Linked DNA regions of Homo sapiens: region 2 is linked to region 1. Evidence: promoter capture Hi-C in 16 types of primary human blood cells and fetal thymus (Javierre and others, 2016). All regions are on one chromosome and are shown on one strand. Each heading gives the region's core, a stretch centred on a gene start or on the middle of the fragment in contact. The rest is flanking DNA. Distances are from core to core; before and after follow the strand shown.

Region 1 (2,806 bases), core at 73-2,572:
TAAAACACATCCCAGTCTTTTTCAATGCACCTTAGGCTACTCACACAGGGAGGCACACTGTTTATTTTGCTTTAGTCTGAACTCATTCAGATTTGTAACCTTTGACACACTTGCCACTTTAGACAACAGTGCATACAGTAACTGACCAGTGTTGCTAGCTTTTTTCTGCCAAAGCCCTATGCGAAGAAAGACACTGAGGCAGCAGTGTCTTCCTAACAGCTGGTTTCCAACTTTTCTCGAATATAATTTTATCCAAGCATCCACGCAGTCGATCACGTACCTTGCTTGGCCTTGTAGCCCAGTCGGCGCGCTTTATCAGGCCGGGTGGGGCGGGGAGCCCTGTGGAGAGCAGAGAGCTGGCGGTACTGCCAGCAGCGGACCCTCAGAAGAAAGCGCATGACATCAGACTGCTTCTTTCTCCATAGCTCCTGGATGTACTTGTATGCACCCATCTTGGCTTACCTGTGAAATCAAACTGTGTATTAAATATCATCCGCTTTAAGTACAATAAGACGACTGTATCCGTCCATCTTAGTTCCCCAACAAAAACAAGGAAACCGCCGGGAATGAAAATGGCTCTGCACCAACTGCCGGGGACAGCTAGCCCAACCCCCACCACTGCGCCCACGGAGCCGCGTTCAGTCACTTCCGCAACCCCAGCACAGAGCGGTGCTCGGCACGTTTTGGTGGGGCGAATTAACAGAACCAGAACTGAGCACCAAGGGGGCGGGTGGCTGCGGCAGGCGGCGTCCCCAAGGAGGACCTGAAAGGAGATGCCGCTGACATCACAGGACAAGGTACTGCTGCGGCCACCGAGGATTAACTCTCGAGGAAAATGCATCTACCCCACCCAACCAGCAGCCTCACTTTAGGCTGCCTTGTCCCGGGCGCCCCATTCGTCAGCCCCACGCCTCCTCCAGGATCCGGGCCCAGCTCGAATTCGCGCCGCCATCACATCTTCGCTCAACCCGCCCCGGGGGCCGCCTCTCCACCCCTTTGCTGTCCCGCATCCTGACCAAACTCTGGCCGCACAGGAGGGAGACCTATCTCCGAGGACGCAGGGTCCCCGGACCTGGATGGCTGAAGAGGAAGACGATCAAAGGCGGATGGAAGAGCAAAGATCCTCAACGCAGCCTACCTGATGGCTGCCGCCAGACGGAAAGGAAAGAGCTGTACTCCCACAATGCCTTTTGGGCTCCTCCCCCACCTCAGCCACCCTCTTTCCGGTGGAAAGCTGCGGCCTCCCAGAGCGTCATGGGACATGTAGTTCCGGCATCGCGCCTGGTGGCGGAGTTCTGCCGAGTGGGGCGCCGCGGCCGCTATTGTCCCGCCCCCTGCTCCGCAAGATTCGAGCCTGAGCGGCCTGGGCGTCTCGAGAGGTGAGAGAGTTGGCGGCGAGGTCTCGGCGGCTAAGCGAGCGTCGGCGACTGTCTCTCCGCGAGAGGAGGCAAGTTGGGGTCCAGGCTCCAAAGCCGGTGGCCGCGTACCGCGGTGGAGCCGCTGTCTTTGAGGTCTGAGGAGAGAACAGGTTTGTTTCACGCACCGCGGGCTCTCCCCCTGCGGAGTCTCTGCGTCTCCGCGTCTCCGCGCTGCGCTGTCCCTCTCTGGCCACCGCACGACGGGCGCAGAAATCTGGGCCCCAGAGCTGCGCTGAGAGATCCCCCGACGCTTCCCCAGCCTCCCAGGGAGGCCTTCGCGGAGTCGGGGCGTCGCGGGTCGGGGCGCTCGCTGTGTCCCTTCAGCTCCAGACTGCGTGAAGCTCCTCCAGCAGGCCCCAGCGCCCAGGGATTTTGTCCTAAAAAAGGGTCATGGAGTGGGTGGATTGCGGGCGGCCCGGCGCTTTTTCTGCATACGGATTTCGTCCCAAATTTGCTAACATGAGAACCACAGTTTTTCAGAAGAGCAGAATGTTTATTTGCCAAGACCTGTTTGGCAGGTGTGAATGTTTTAGAGAAGAAATGCCGAGAAAATGCTGGCATTTTGCGTTGCGGGTTTTTTTTTAAATTGAGAAATAGGTTACTGGCTTACTTTGTTTCTCCAGAATATTTTCACTTGGCTTTAATTTAAGTCATGTGGCTTTAATTTCCTTCCAGATTATGCGTTCAGATGTGGCAAAGGCTTAAGAGAATCATTATCTCTTAATCGTAGCGGTTTTGATTATCTTTTTTCCCACATCATATTTTTCTTTCTTTCTTTTTAAATCACAGCTTTACGTTTTTAAGAGTCTCTATCTGGTTCATTGATTGATTCAACAAATATTTATTAAGTGTCTAATATGTGCCAGGCATAGTTGCTGGGGATGCAGCAGGAAACAACGCAGAATTTTTGGCCTTCTTGGAAATGGGCAGTAAGCAGAAGTAAGCTGTGTTTTGGGTTTGGTGGTAAATGCTAAGGAAAAAAGATAAGGGGAGGGAAGTGATGAGGGAGTGTTAGCGGCTGAGGGTTGCAATTTGGAATGGAGTGTCCAGGTTAAGTCTTTGAGAGAAGGTAACATTTAAGAAAGGACTTCAAGGATAGGAGTCTGGGAGTAAGAGTAGGGGTCTGATTCAGGCAGAGGGAGAAGAGCCATGACTGGAGCATGCAAGATTAATAGAGGAACAGCAGGGAAGCAGTGTGGCTGAAATTCACAGTAGGGGAAAGTGGGAAATGACGTCGGAGAGGTGAAGGTTCTCACATGGACTTTGGATTTCATTGGCAGATTTTGAACAGAAGGATGACTTCATATGGCGTACATTTTAAAAAGATAACTCGGATTGCTCCTTTTGAGGCTAAAAGGAGAGAAAAAATGGAAGCAGAGAGACTGCTT
Region 2 (2,931 bases), core at 77-2,576, about 120 Mb before region 1:
TGACAGGGTCAAAGAAAGCGTCCCAAGAGCCTCATCACGGCAGAGAAAAAAGGGAGGGAAAGTCTAGGCTAAGAGATTGCAGCTAGGAAAGAGGCTTGGTTCACTGGACATGATACTGAAGAGGCCGTGTGTTATCATGGAAGAGCCTTTGACATAAGCAGAGAATCAAATCTTAGCTCAGCCTCATGCAGTTTGCTTATTGCTTTGCCTAACTTCTACTTCCATTTCCATTAGCAAAAAAGAAAGAAAAAGCCATTTGTTCCTAGTCACCTCTTCTTCTCCTATAAATGTTGGTATCCCTACAGATTCTGAACGATGTCCTTTTCTCCCTTCTCAGATTCTTACTCGATGATTTCTCCTATCCTGCCACGACTTCAATTACCTTTATATGCCAGAAACTCTAAAATCTGAATCTCCTGCCAAGATCACCTTCCATCCAATTACTCAACCTCTCTCATGTACTTGAATACTGCCAAGTCAGAACCCATCAACTTTCCCTTGTCTCAAACCTGCATTTTCTGTTCCCTATCTCAGCATCATCCAGTAGGCCATACAGGCCAGAAATCTTACAGCCATTCCTAAATTCTCCCTGATCCTCCAGATCTAGCCAATAGCAGTAGTAATAACAACAACAGTAATCAAATAGCTGTAGTAATAATAACAGTAATTATAAGAGCTACCATTTATTAGCTATTTACTACATGCCAATACTGACTGAGCTAAGTACTTTACACATTCAGCCCATTTAATACTCACAACAACCCATGAGGTAAACACGAAGATTATCCCAATTTTACAAAAAAAAAAAAAAAACAAAAAAAAAAACACCACTGGCAGAGAACATACTGATTGTTTGCCTTCATAAATCTCATTTTAATCCTCCATTTCCCACTGCCACTACTCTAGTCAAGGCTATCCTCATCTCTTGCATCAGCCTCCCTTTCTCCATTCTGGCCCCACTACAGATCATTCTCCACAGAGCAACCAGAGTAATCTCTTTAAAATGTAATCAAGATTACTCCCAAGCTTAAAATTCACGAATGGCTTCCAACCTCATTTAGAAAAAAAGTTAAGGTGGTCTGCTTACCTACACTATGTCTCTCACTAAGTGATGTGCTCTATGAAGACCAGACCTTGTCTTATACTCATCTCTGGCACCCAGGGTTCCTCAGGGTATCCAGCACACAGCAAGTGCTCAGCACTACTCTCTCCTCAGTCTCACCCATTCACTCACCTTTAGTTACCATTTTTACTCCGATGTTCCTCACTTTATATTTAACTCCATACTAAACAGTTGACTCTTAAAGTCACCTCAAATTTAATGTGTCCCAAATAGGTTTAATTCCGCCTCCTTTCCCATCTCCTGATCTCATCTACTCCTGCACTACCCCCGCCCCCAAAATAACGGTTCCAACAATTAATTAATCTTCTTCATCTTGGTGTAAATGGGACAACCCTCTATTCCAATCAAAAACTTAAGAAACAATCTTAATTTGTCCCTTTAAACTCATATCCAAAGCCTTAATCAAGCCTTATCAATCCTACCTCCAAAATGGGTTCCCAAATATCTGTGCTCAGTCTCATTTCTGGACATCTGCTACTGTCCCCTATGCTTGAGAAGCTTCTTGCTTTCTCCTTAGCATGGCTAACCAGATCTCAGCTTTGGTCATATTTGCCAGGAACCCTTCCCTGACCTTCCAACCTAGTTTGAGTGCCTCTCCTGTGTGCGTCCCCTATAACAACCCGGGTCACACTGCACTGCCAATTCCCCATGGACATGAGTTCCCACAGGGAAATGTCTGTGTCAGTCTTAGTTTGCCATATCCCACAGAGCTTAGCACAGTGCTCTGCACGGAGCGGAACTCAGGCACTGTAGTTGAGTGAGTGAACGAATGAACAGATATGCAGGTGATGACAAACTCTACAGGTACAGAAGGAAGACAGCTGAATCTGAGGAAGCGCTAGGATACGTGTCGCGGGGGCTATCGCGTGGTTTTCGCCTGCCAGAAACAGGATCTACGTCTCCCAGAAGAACGCCCCAGCGAAAGTCCGGAAGGTCACTTACCGGCCTCGGAGCTGAACCGGCGGCGTGGCAGCCCCATCTCGAAAGAGCAAGGTAGCGGTTGGAGCAGGCCACCGTGCCAGGGCTGGATTCGAGCCCGGAAACAGACCCGTTCCACGCCCGGAGAACTCCTCAAGAGGCTCCACAGCAATACAGTTGTTCCGAGGGGCGCCATGATTATCAGAAGCCACTTGCGCCGGAAGTGGTTGGGAGGGATTCCGAGTCACACCCAGTTCTTGCAGCACTCTGGGAAATGTAGTCTAGTTAAAGGCGGAAAGGGCCGGAAGTCTTCCGGGCCCTTATAGATTGTTTCTTCTAAACTACTTATTCACAAGTAGACGGTGTTTATGTCCTTCCCTATGCATAAAGTTAAAACTTACACCTTTTTCCCTATATGCTCTTTTTCCTACCCGTTTCCATCGTTCTAAATAACAAATTTCCGGCCAGGCGCCGTGGCTCACGCCTGTAATCCCAGCAGTCTGGGAGGCCAAGGCGGGCGGATCACCTGAGGTCAGGAGTTCGAGATTAGCCTGGCCAACATGGTGAAACCCCCGTCTCTACTAAAAATATAAAAATTAGCCAAGCATGGTGGCGGGCGCCTGTACCAGGAGAATCGCTTGAACCGAGGAGGCAAAGGTTGCATTGAGCCAAGATCGTGCCATTGCACTCCAGCCTGAGCAACAAAGCAAGACTCCATCTCAAATAAACAAACAAACAAACACTCTAGCCTGGGTGACAGAGTGAGACTCTTGTCTCAAATAAATACATAATTTATGTATTCCACTTCCTGCCCAAACCTTCTCCCCCATCCTCAGGTTTAAATCCAACTACTTCTTAAATTTCTCCATCCACACTGCTCACATGCACCC

What was found. Contacts are between HindIII fragments. The CHiCAGO score rates a contact against its expected background, and 5 or more counts as called.
Region 2: a contact is called between a fragment that was not itself captured here and the fragment with the promoter of NKIRAS1 in region 1, in 1 of 17 cell types (non-activated CD4 T cells). The highest score is 5.2, in non-activated CD4 T cells.

Annotation. Positions count from the first base shown.
Region 1 is chr3:23,915,506-23,918,311 of GRCh38, reverse strand. NKIRAS1 (NFKB inhibitor interacting Ras like 1) reads left to right here and starts at 1,322. Exons shown (of 5, transcript NM_020345.4): 1 at 1,322-1,528. It overlaps RPL15 (ribosomal protein L15), which reads right to left and starts at 1,180. Exons shown (of 4, transcript NM_002948.5): 1 at 1,139-1,180; 2 at 281-462. The coding sequence starts at 452. RefSeq lists enhancers at 439-538, 468-1,667, 919-1,718. The HindIII fragment of the contact is 19,179 bases long and covers 1-2,806 here.
Region 2 is chr3:139,343,333-139,346,263 of GRCh38, reverse strand. It overlaps MRPS22 (mitochondrial ribosomal protein S22), which reads right to left and starts at 2,244. Exons shown (of 8, transcript NM_020191.4): 1 at 2,066-2,244. The coding sequence starts at 2,237. RefSeq lists enhancers at 1,637-1,756, 1,767-1,866, 1,843-2,137, 2,097-2,186. The HindIII fragment of the contact is 595 bases long and covers 1,029-1,623 here.